Linked DNA regions of Homo sapiens: region 1 is linked to region 2. Evidence: promoter capture Hi-C in 16 types of primary human blood cells and fetal thymus (Javierre and others, 2016). All regions are on one chromosome and are shown on one strand. Each heading gives the region's core, a stretch centred on a gene start or on the middle of the fragment in contact. The rest is flanking DNA. Distances are from core to core; before and after follow the strand shown.

Region 1 (5,777 bases), core at 2,959-5,458, 760 kb before region 2:
CAGTCTCCTGGATCCTCACTGACAACTAGTTCAGAAAGACTTTTAGTATTTCTCTTTGTGCAATTTAAAAGGTTAAACTAATAAATCCTTATATCAAATAAAACTAAGCTATAAACAATGCTAGCAATTATAGCAAATAGGCAGATGTACTGTTCTTCAACAGCTAAGCCTGTGAGAAACACATGTTTTCAACTTGAGTAACCCTAACAGTAGCATCAGGCCTAGGAAGACGTCTGGACCTAGAAGTCTCCACATTCAGCCCCATCTGCCACAATCTCGAACTGCAGACTGATGAAGGCAGAGAGAGAAACTGACACAAACGCAAAGGCCTCAGAGTTTATAAAAATCTTAGTTTAAATACAGAAATAAAGAGAAAAAGCTTCTATATTAAATATCTCAATTTAAGTTCAGAATAAAGTCCCTACATATGCCATGATGCTTCACCCCATACTTCAGCCAACTCAGGATGGCTAAAGAATGTAAGTGGAATCAGAAAGAAAAACTGGAATTACCTATGTTAAAATAAGGTATATGACTATTTCTTGTTTTTGTTTGGGAGATAGTAGTGCCTGACAAATATTTTGCAAACCTTAAAGTGGAATTCTCTACATAGGCACAATCACTCCAGCACAAGTCAGGAGGACACTGTTCTTACACATGCTTTTAATTTGTTCTTCTGTGTCTCCTCTTCCTCACTAGTAAGAATGAAACAAAAACATTGTATCCACTTAATGTAAAGTGGAGCCAGCTCTTGGAGCCGGCTATTTTCTTCCTGTGATACTTGTCTACGTTACCTGGAATTTTAGAAAGAATTTATTAACTGCAGGTTCTTTCCTATAATTAGGATAAAAGCATACAAATATCTTAAGGCTTTTGGATCATCAAGCTGTTCAATAGAGAAAACGACTAAAACCTAGCCCTCAATTCCTAATCCTGACATTTCCCGGTTGAGGAGTTTGCAAAATAGACTTCTTACCAATATTCATAAAGTTACTATTAACATAGTAATATTAAATGGTCTCAGAATTTCACATATAAGTAAGTCTTCCAGTAGTTAGACAATTGGTGGGGAGCTAAAAATTGAAAAACTTCTTAGAGGAAAAAAATACAACATACAACGCTGACAGATTGTAACGAGTTTTTTCCTTAGAACCAGATTGTTGTTAAGAAATATTCTTTGAGCTATTTGGTAATCATGAGCTCATCTTCCCACACAAAAATATCACGCTGGGTGAAGTGGCTCACGCCTGTAATACCACCACTTTGGGAGGCGGGGGAGTCCCTTGAGGCCAGGAGTTCAAGACAAGCCTGGGCAACTTAATGGGACCCCCATCTCTACAAAAAAATTAAATTAGCCAAGTATGGTGGCTCGATCCCGCACTGCTAGCCACCTGGGAGACTGATGCAGGAGGATCGCTTGTGCCCAGGAATTGGAGGCTGCAGTGATCCCGCCACTGTATGCGGCCTGGACAATACAGCCAAACCCTGTCTCTAAAAGACAAAAGTCACTAAACACATAACGTTCACAGCAGCACCTCTTAGGAGTCGCAATGGTCTGCATAGTTGCTATTTATCCCTGTTTAGTGCAATTTGTATGTCATCTTTTCAGTTCCCCATTAGTAATAATTTTTTAAAAAGTCATCTTAGGGAAGACTTCCCTGTCACTTTTTCTCTTCGGTGCTCCTTCAACACATAAAATGCTAATTACTATTATATAGTAAATATCAAAACGAACTTTTCTATTTATTCGTCTAAATAGACAGTACTTATACTGTTTCCTAGCACCAGGCACAATGCCTTGTCAATTAACTCCTTGCACGTAGCGAAGTACTCTACAGTTAAAGACAACAAGATTATATCCTGGAAACATGCCAGGCCTTAAGAAATTATTTTTCTCAGACGTGTTTGGAGTGATAACACTGCCAAGTAACGGAGGTATAATAAGTGATTCTCAAGATAATTAATCCTACGCAGCTACAAACGCTGTAAGGTAAAAACAATCATTTTTACAGTTATCATTTTTATTCTTACTAGTTTTGTAACTTTTAACTTACTAGTGTTATATTATTATAACACGACGTAAAGGAATAGTGCGTAAAGGAACTGCTATGTACCAATGAGACCTGAGCAGGGCACACAAGACTGAAAGAAAAACAACCCCACGCAAAATCTAAGTCTTGCAGTTTTCACTCCTCGCGTCTCCAGTGTCCACGCATCCGCAGTCCTGTTTTTGTATTTCGCCCAAGATACACCCCTGGGCAACCTCAGGGTGCGAGGAACCCAGCTCTGCCTCCTGCTCCCCGCGGCTCCTGTACTACCCAAGGCTCGCGATCTTCCATGACCCCTCGAAGTTGCCTCCCTTTCCCGGGCAAAGAAGGGGCAGCGACCCCGCCTCGCCCGCCGGACCGAGCCAGGTCCAGCCTGGCTCCCCCCTGGGGCCGTGCTTCCCCCGCCCCCAACGGTCCTCAGGCCTGGGTCTCACCTCTCCACCCACTCCCTCAGGAAGCGCATTTCCTCGGTGTGCAGAACGCTCGGATCCTGCTTACACATTTTCACAAAGGCCCGAAGCTCGTTCACTTTGCGGGGGTCCATGGTAGGGAGGTGGTGGGCGAAACTGGGGGGGCTACGGCCCGGTTCCAGGCCCAGGCGCTGGCTCGGCGTGACCGCGCAGAAGGGGGCGGCTGCCGCAAGACAGAACAGACTAGAACCTCCCCGGCCGCTGGCTCCTCCCACCCAACGGTCTCGTGACCTCGGGTCCTCCGCCTGCTCATTCCTACTCCCTCTGCGCTGCTCCTGCGCGCTCCCTAGAATCTTCTAGAAGCGTGGCTGTTCGTGCTGTTGCCTGCCTCCCTGCGCATACATTCTCATATTCTTAACTAGGAACCAGCTCCCTGGATGGGGCAACCCCAGAAATGGGCGACTTCAAGGAGGCGGGAGATAACATCCCCTCCAGGGGGCGACGTCCAAGAGCATATTGTGTGGCTGCGTGCACTGAGTAGAGCTCAACGCCCGGGACCTAAAAAAAAAAAAAAAAAAGGGCGTGGAGCCGGAGGGTCGGTCCCAGCTCGGGGCATGACGTCACAACCTGCGCCGCCGCGCAAGGAAGGCCCGCGAGCCGCCTCCGCCGGAAGGGGAGGTGCGGCTGGCCCGGTTTCCTGGCGACGCGGCCCTGCAGGCGGTTGCGTTCCCCGTCGTTACCCTCTTTCTCTTCCCGACGCGTGAGTTAGGCCGTAATGCCTTGGCTGCTCTCAGCCCCCAAGCTGGTTCCCGCTGTAGCAAACGTCCGCGGCCTCTCAGGTTAGACTCTTCTCCCACGGTCTCCTCCCATGGTGTCCCCTGGAGGGACCCAAGTTGGTCTCAGGCGATCCCTGGTTCGGCTGACCCTTCTCCTGGTGGGGCCTCCGCTCCCCAACCCTCTGTGCTCCGCGGATTTCTTCTATACCGGCTGCTCCTGGAAAGGGGTGGGCCCAGTGTGTTCTCTACCGTTGAGGTATTTTGTGAAGCCGAAATGACTGCAGAGAGAAAAGTGTGCCATCCCCCAGAGGGGCTGTCTTCCAAGTTACTCGGACTCCGAAGTTGTGGCAATTATCACACTTAAGTGACAAAGTGTCTCACATCAAGTAGCTCTTGTTTCTGTTAGGCGTGAGAGCTTGCTCCAGAATATACACGAAGCATGTTTAGTAACAAATTCTTTCAGCAGCTCCTCTTAGGAGAGGTAACTGTTTCGAAATACTTCTGGGGCGTTCTGTGTCTGAAAGTCCTGTTTGCAAAGACAAGACGAAGGATAAGGAGAATAATTTTTTGTAGGGTGTCCTCTATTGCGAGCAATTAATCTGATGAACATAAAGCTTAATCAGTGAAAACTGAATCACCTTCCTTGCAGGCGGATCTGCCATTGGATCGTATTTCAGTTTTTTGGGTCAATATATGAACAATGTGTGAACCAGAACGTATGGTATTTGACATCAAAGCTATGTCTTGGCATATGTTTATGTTGATATACTTGAATTCATTTAAAATGGAATGTTAATTACATCGACTTCTTACTATAAAAAATAAAAAGTTATTGTCCAGTGCACAGAACTTGTTCTTCAGTTCTCATAGTAAAGCTGCAGAAAGACAACTCTCCGTGGGATTAGGTGAAAAGAAAGATGTGCAATTTTTCAGTCTTTTTTTGAGACAGGCTCTCATTCTGTTGCTCAGACTGGAGTGCAGTGGCAATCTCTGCTCATTTGCAACCTCTGCCTCCTGAGTTCAAGCAATTCTCGTGCCTCAGCCTCCCGAGGTAGCTGGGATTATAGGCGTGTGCCACCACGCCTGGCTAATTTTTGTAATTGTAGTAGAAACCAGGTTTTGCCACGTTGGCCAAGCTGATCTCGAACTCCTGGCCTCAAGCGATCCACCCTCCTCTCTGAGCCACCGCCCCAGGCCTGGAATTTGCTTTTATTTGAAAGGCTCTCCCCAGCCTGACTAAAGGAGCCATACTACCAGAAGGAACACTTGCAAAGGCACAGAACTCTAAAACGGAGTGGCCAGCACTAAGCGTTGCAATCGTTTAGTATGGCTGGAGAAGCTTTTTTTTTTTTTTTTTTTTTTTTGAGACAGAGTCTTGCTCTTGTCGCCCAGGCTGGAGTGCAGTGGCGCGATCTCTTGCCTTACTGCAACCTCCACCTCCCGAGTTCAAGCGATTCTCCTGTCTCAGCCTCCCGAGTAGCTGGGATTACAGGCGCCCGCCACCACGCCTGGCTAATTTATGTGTTTTTAGTAGAGATGGGGTTTCACCATCTTGGCCAGGCTGGTTTTGAACCCCTGACCTCGTGATCCACCCGCCTCGGCCTCCCAAAGTGCTGGGATTACAGGCGTGAGCCACCGCGCCCGGCTTAGGAAAAGATTTTTTGAAAGATGTTCTCAAACAAAATAGTAGGCATTACACGAAAATGATTCTGTGATCAAATACTTTTGGGGAATGCTGCCTTTCATAATGTACATAATAGTTTAATTCTTTTTTTGGAGATGGGGTCTTGCCATGTTGCCCAAAGTAAACTTGAACTCTCACCTCAGCTTCTCAAAGTGTTGCGATTATAAGTGTGAGCCACTGCACCCAGCCCTTAATAGTCTAGGTTTCTGAGAGATGTGTTCCGCAGTAATTTGCAAAATGTGTAAAAATGTATTTGACCATGGACCCCTTTTCTGTGATGAATCTTGAACTGGTATCCCTGGAACAGATTTTGGGAGAAGTTGGGCTAGAGCATAAGATGAGTACAAGGAGCTGATAGGAAATCAAGTTGGGAAAAAAGCTGGTGGCTGGCTCGTGGAGGGCCTTGTATATTATGTTAAGCAAACAATTAGCTTTTTCCTTTAGATGGTGGGAAAACTTTGAGGAATTTTAAGCTATTGAGTAAGATGATTAAATCTAAATTTTTGGTTTTCTGTTAAGAGTGAAGAAATGGACTACAGGGCATGTCATTACATTCTTAAATTTTCTGAGACACTGATTTTTGCTTTAGTTTTTGGAAAATTGCAATTTTTTTTTCAACTTTACTACCACATGCATGATAACAGATAAACTCTACTAAATATCACATCTTATATTAGAAGCATTTAAAATACCCTGGGCTTTTATTATTTTATTTTCTGAAAATAAACTTTGAATACTAATTGTCCGCAGTCTCTTCTATAGAATAAATAACCTTTCCTTCTCCCATCTGCCCACTAAAAATCAAATACCGATACAAAACACAAGCTCTTGACTATAGCTGTCTTTTAAAAATAGCAGA
Region 2 (6,374 bases), core at 3,498-5,997:
TTACTATTTGTACTACAAAATGAAGTAAAGAATTGAGTATAGTGTAAAATCTCTAATATTCATTAGAATTCATTCTGCCAAGCAATTTATATATTCTATGTCTCCAAATCTTTAAGTCTGAAAACAGTTTTGAAATGGGCTTGTAAAGAAAAATAAACGTGATGCATGTACACGAAACTTCTGATCAGAAAATAATAAACAAATATGAAGTACTTCTTACCACAATTAAAACACACACACACACACACACACACACACACACACACACACACTTCTGCATGTACTGTGGCACAAAAAGAGGTCAAGAAACTTAAAGAGCAGCCAAAATTATTAAGAGGAGGAACTGAAGGACACTTATAATAGCTAATTATTTTAGGCAATTGGTGACTATGAAAAAAGGTGCAATGAGGCTATCTGCTCAATTAGAATGCTGAAGATAATTTTGGGACCATTTTTCATAGTGAATGAAAAGCTATAGAACAGTAATGCCTTCACTTGAGGCAATTCCAGGAGGCTGAAAACAGGACAGGCTAAAACTACGGAATTTACATTGCTTCAGGAAAGGGGAATTACCTTGGGCTTTATCTAGTCTAATCCTGAACTGCGACAGAGCTAGATGAGGTCTCCCATTGGAGAACTGACATAACTGAAGCCTGAGAGGGTACTGCAGATGAGATCACATGGATTTAATTTGGGAAAATGGAGACTAAGAGGCATGATCATAAATCTAGATTGTAAGTGGCACATACACATTGAACCCAGCTTTTTTTCTCATCCAAACTTGAAACATTTGGCAAAGGATGCCTTTACAAACTTCAGGAAGGCATCTACTTTACTTCAATTTTAAAGGAACGTATTACACAGAGGTGGTATCTCAAAATGACAGAGAACGCGAGCTCTGGAAGTCAGACTGCCTGTGTTCATAACCCAGCTCTACCACCTAGTAGCTCTGGGACCTGGGGCAAATTCCTTAACACTCTACTTCTCAGGTTCTTCAATCAAGAAAATGGAGGCAATAACAGGACTTATCTCACAAAGTTGTGGTGAGGATTATAATGCACGCAAAGTACTCAGAAAAAAAGGGTCTGACACATGGTAAGCTCTCAATAAATAGTGGCTATTAATATACTTCTAGAATTCATCATAAAAATCAGGAAACAAATTGATTTTTTAAAGGTTCAAATGTATTTAGGAATGGGAAATCAATATATGGCTACTTATAGCACTGGGACATACCCAACTTCAAGATTTGTGTTGTCTGAATGGGATGAATCAGTAAGACCATGCCTATTTTCCTTAAGTGTTCAACTCTAGAAAGTAATGACTACTAGCTTTGCTAATTCTTTCTTCATTAATTTTGCAAAAGGTATAAAAGCAATATGGAAAAAAGAGGTAGAGAAGACAGAAGTAGATTAGCACACAAGGTGATTTCCTCAGATCAGAATCTGATGTGCCCAATGAATGGGTGATGTTCCCATGTTTGGCTGAGGCATTCCAGGACTTTACATCTATATAAAAGGGCGGGGAGTGGGAAGGGGGCAGGTCTATTACTCCATCTTCAGTTACAGCACTTTCCCCTTCACCCACTACACTCCACAAAAGCCTTCTTTCAGTTCCAGTATCAGGCCAGACTCTTTCCTGTCTCAGGGCTTTGGCAGGTTGATCTTTCTCCTACCTGGAACACTGTTACTCCCTTACTACCCTCCTGTGGCTACTTCTTCCTCATCCTAAATTCCCACTTTCAAAGTCACTACCCTTGATACCCTTATTTAAAATAGGTCTCTTCACTGGGTGCAGTGGCTCATGCCTGTAATCCTAGCACTTTGGGAGGCTGAGGCGGGCGGATCACTTGAGGTCAGGAGTTCAAGACCAGCCTGGCAAACATGGTGAAACCCTGTCTCTACTAAAAATATAAAAATCAGCCAGGTGTGGTGGCATGCGCCTGTAATCCCAGCTACTCTGGAGGCTGAGGCAGGAGAATCACTTGAACCTGGGAGGCAGAGGTTGCAGTGAGCTGAGATCACCCCACTGCACTCCAGCCTGGGCAACAGAGCAAGACTCGTCTAAAAAAAAAAAAAAGGTCTCTCTTGTTATTTTCTATCACAGCACCCAGTGTGCTTCCTGTGCAGAAGGCACTTATGCAATTTGTAACTAATTATTTATGTATTTATTTTTAATGTCTCCCCCATTAGATAGCTCCATGATGGCAAAGAACATCTTTGTTCATTATATCAACCTCATTTACCTTAACACGTTGACTAGCATAGAGCAGACGCTCAATAAACATCTGCTGAATGAATGAAATAATGACTCCTAAGGCTCCTTTCAGCTGCCCAATAATTATTAGGTAATAGGATAAAAAATACCCAGTGTAAAGGGGGAGGTTTTACGTGGGGTATAGGAAATATCTGATTCCTCACTATGATAAAAAAACAAACAACTAAATGGCTCCATTCCAAGAAGTTTAGTTAAAACTTGACTGATGTGGGCTGGGCATGGTGGCTGACGCCTGTAATCCCAGCACGTTGGGAGGCCAAGGCAGGCGGATCACAAGGTGAGGAGATCGAGACCATCCTGGCTAACACAGTGAAACCCCGTCTATACTAAAAATACAAAAAATTAGCCGGCTGTGGTGGCGGGCGCCTGTAGTCCCAGCTACTCGGGAGGCTGAGGCAGGAGAATGGCGTGAACCCGGGAGGCGGAGCTTGCAGTGAGCCTAGATCGTGCCACTGCACTCCAGCATGGGTGACAGAGCGAGACTCCGTCTCAAAAAAAAAAACCAACAAAAAAAAAACACTTGACTGATGTAATCTATTAATGAGTAACAGCTTCCTCAGTGACTTTGTAAGTTTTGCTTTCAGATGTGCCTCAATCATTTTAACAACTGGTTATCTAGGCCCAAATCCCTGTCAAATAATGGGTTGGCTACATAAGAATTAGCTGATAAGCTCATTAAAAATACAGATTTTTGGACCAAAACTCCAGGAGATTCTGATTTAGTATTTGTGAAGCCTTAGAATCCATATAATTAAAATTTTCTCATTTTAAATAGATATTATGTGTATGTAATACACAGGTCCAGAGGTAAGAAACAGTTTACAGCAAAGTTTCTCTTCTACCCCTGTTCCCCTGGCATCAAGTTCCCCTTTCCATAAGCTACTGCTGTTATCAATTTCTTGTGTATCCTTACGGATAATTATTTGCCTAAGCAAGCACATATATATCCTTTGATTTGCATATTTAAAGAGCTATTCTAACCTTGTTTTTTCTAATCTCATTTACAATATATGTTGGAAATGAGGGTATCTGCATTTTTAACAAGCACCCTAGATGATTTTGATGTGAAGCCAAATATAGAAACAACTCATGGACCCACGGTTGTGAGATTAAGTTCAATTCACTACGACATATTAGAAACTCAAGGACATTGAAGGATGCCCTCAAAAGTAGCCTCCCTTACTTGATCTCTGCCCCCTCGTCTCACAGAGATGAACTAAATCATTCGCCAGTGTCTCCACAGAAGCCAGGAAAAACTAGCCATTCAAATGGATGCTGTCAAAGCTTCAATTTTCAATAATTGGAATTCTTTCCTGCTCATTGTTACCCGAAATTACAAACCTGACAATTCCTGTGTTACACAAGACATTCCTGTATTTAAGTTGAAATAAGGTGTGATCGTCACTGAATGAGGGCTGGTTTTTCTCCTGCCAGTTAAGTAGTTTAATGGAGCACAACCGAAATACTTTCTTTACTAATCCTTATTCACACAGCCTCATCCAAACTTCCCCCAAAACTGCTTTCTTGCCATTTGAGCAAAAGCAATTAACTTAGAAACTGTGGGGAGAAGACTGCTTGGTGAATTCTGGAGTTCGGGGCTCCTCTTATCCTGACTTGACCTACCTGGGGGCGATGGCTGGGTCCCTAGGCAGCTCTATCTCCCCCATCCCACCTATCCCTGGGACTGCAAAGGGAGCTTCCTTTTGGCACTGAGACAAGGTTCTCCGAGAGCCACCCGACCTCCGCAGTGTCTCTGTCACCACGAGGGGCACCGCGCGGCAGGCATCCTCACCTTTCCTACACCGCGCCAAGGAGGCAGGAGTGCACTGGGCTACCCGAGCGAGGCAGAGAACCCGCCGGGATCCAGCGCTGGTTTACCCCACACCCTCGTCGAAGGGGCTCTCGAGGGCTCGGTTTCTGCCCAAGCCCCCTGCAAGGTGGAGGCATGACTCCTCCATCCCTTCCCCTTGAATTCAAACGTGAGGATGGTATCTGCGAGGCTAAAGCGGGGCTCAGATGGCCCAAACTTCAGACCACTCTCTTCTCCACTCGGCTTTTCTTCCATCCTCCTGGCCATGTGTCTCCCCGTGAGTCGTGGCCCAAGTCTCCCCACCTCGGCCAGCCGCCACCCTCTGGCCTGGCTCCCGCCCTCCTGCCCACCTGGCCCCTTCCCCCTCACCCAGCATGATGGGGCTGAGCCGCCGGGCCAGGCCTTTGGACAGGTCGTACACGTAGAGCTTCACCGGATAGAGATTCGGCGGCTCCATTGGGACCCGTGGCGACGGCGGCCACGACGGCCCTCGGGCACCCGGCAGCGGCTTGGACCTTCCCGTACCCGACGGGAGTGCGAAGCGGAGGGAGAGGGGGGGACCGAGCCCGGGCCCGGGCTGAGGGGTGGGGGAGAGGCCGCCCTGCGCTGCTCGCGCCCCCACACCCGCTACCGGCAACGACTACTGTGAGGTGACAGAGAGGGGACAGGGAGGGCCCACACGGAAGAGGGGGCGGGGGCAGGGATGCACTTTTGCGCATGTGCTTACAGTCCTGACGTAGGAAGGGGCGGGGCTTTGCCGAAGGGGGCGGGGCTCTCGCTGATGGGTTGGCTTTCGTCAGGGACATAGGTAGAAGCTGGTTGGGGAGTGTGCGTGCCAGCCTGACGCGATATAGTGCGCACATGCGTGATGACGTAGAGGGCGTTGATTGGGACCGAGTACAGGGCCCGCGCATGCGTGGATTGTCGTCTTCTGTCCAAGTTGGTCGCTTCCCTGCGCCAAAGGTAAGCGGGCCGTTATCCATTTGTGTTGTTCGCCAGCTAGGCCTGGCCTCGTCCCGCTTCGCTCGGTCGGTCTCGCGCGCCCCCATAGCCTTGCTAGAGGGTTAGCGTTAGCCTTAAGTGTGCGAATCCGAGGAGCAGCGACAGACTCGAGACCACGCTCCTTCCTCGGGAAGGAGGCGGCACCTCGCGTTTGAGGCCCGCCTGCGTTTGAGGCCCGCCTGCGCTTGCGGCCCGCCTGCGCTTGAGGCCTGTCTGCGTTTGAGATCTCATTGGGCGTGATTGAGGAATTTGGGGAGGTTTTTGGGCGGTATTGAGGACGAGGGGGTCCGTTAGTCAGCATAGAATCCTGGAGCGGGAATCCCTCACCGTCTAAATGGCGTCGGGGGCGGGACCTCCGGGATCTGGCTTCCGCGGGCCGCCGCCGGCCCTGAAACGTGAGGGATAGCTGAGATGAGGCAGCTACTGGGATGGCCCCCATGCGCATTTACATGCAGTCCGACTGCCGAGCTTTCGAGGCAGCAGGATTTACCGTCCACATTCCTCACTACTAACCAAGCTTTTAGAACAGATCTCACAAGAACCTAGAGGTCGGTATTTTTTCGATTTAAATTTGCCTGTTACTGACGTTAACGTCTTTCGCCTAGTGAGCAGTAGCCAACATGTCAGGGTGGGAGTCATATTACAAAACCGAGGGCGATGAAGAAGCAGAGGAAGAACAAGAAGAGAACCTTGAAGCAAGTGGTAAGTGACTTCAGCATGTAGTGCCATTCGGTGTGTGGAAGAAAGACCTTCCCTGCCTATCTCTGCTGGATGGACTTTGCTGTTTGATGGCCTGCCCTTCTCCTCCCAGATAATTCTGAAATTCTTTTCTTCCTTTGAACTTCGCAGAGCTACCCTAGGCTCTTATATGCAGATCTTACTCTAGTGTGCCCTAAGTTTTTTTTGGACACTGGTAGTTTGACATCTTTTGGTCCCTGATAAATGGCCATGACCATAGGTATTTTTTGTCATCTTAAGTGGTTCAGGTGAGACCCTTCTCATCCAGGAAAGTAGTGTTACCATTCCAGGACCTCAGTGTAAAAATGCCCCCACCCTGCAATAACTACACCAACCAAAGAATAAACGCAAGCAACACAGTTACAGGAAAGTGATTGATTCCCTCACTATAGCCTCCACGTTTGGGAGTGTATGTGCAGGCAACACAGTAACACATAAAACAAAGGAAGAGAAATAGGGGTACATGTAATCTTCATACTGGTTAATTTAACTCCTGAGCAGAAAAATTTTGAATATTTTTATTAAAAATGAGAAACGGCCAGGCGCG

The links. Contacts are between HindIII fragments. The CHiCAGO score rates a contact against its expected background, and 5 or more counts as called.
Region 1: a fragment that was not itself captured here is called in contact with the fragment with the promoter of DESI1 in region 2 in 1 of 17 cell types (non-activated CD4 T cells); the score reaches 5.9 in non-activated CD4 T cells.

The regions. Positions count from the first base shown.
Region 1 is chr22:40,853,949-40,859,725 of GRCh38, forward strand. XPNPEP3 (X-prolyl aminopeptidase 3) reads left to right here and starts at 3,200. Exons shown (of 10, transcript NM_022098.4): 1 at 3,200-3,297. The coding sequence starts at 3,234. It overlaps ST13 (ST13 Hsp70 interacting protein), which reads right to left and starts at 2,691. Exons shown (of 12, transcript NM_003932.5): 1 at 2,483-2,691. The coding sequence starts at 2,592. It overlaps DNAJB7 (DnaJ heat shock protein family (Hsp40) member B7), which reads right to left. Exons shown (of 1, transcript NM_145174.2): 1 at 5,601-5,777. RefSeq lists enhancers at 2,419-3,188, 2,816-3,035, 3,046-3,505. The HindIII fragment of the contact is 725 bases long and covers 3,847-4,571 here.
Region 2 is chr22:41,616,296-41,622,669 of GRCh38, forward strand. DESI1 (desumoylating isopeptidase 1) reads right to left here and starts at 4,748. Exons shown (of 6, transcript NM_015704.3): 1 at 4,457-4,748. The coding sequence starts at 4,544. It overlaps XRCC6 (X-ray repair cross complementing 6), which reads left to right and starts at 5,000. Exons shown (of 13, transcript NM_001469.5): 1 at 5,000-5,050; 2 at 5,695-5,791. The coding sequence starts at 5,710. RefSeq lists enhancers at 2,754-2,823, 2,834-2,893, 4,166-4,767 and a silencer at 4,499-4,768. The HindIII fragment of the contact is 2,045 bases long and covers 3,560-5,604 here.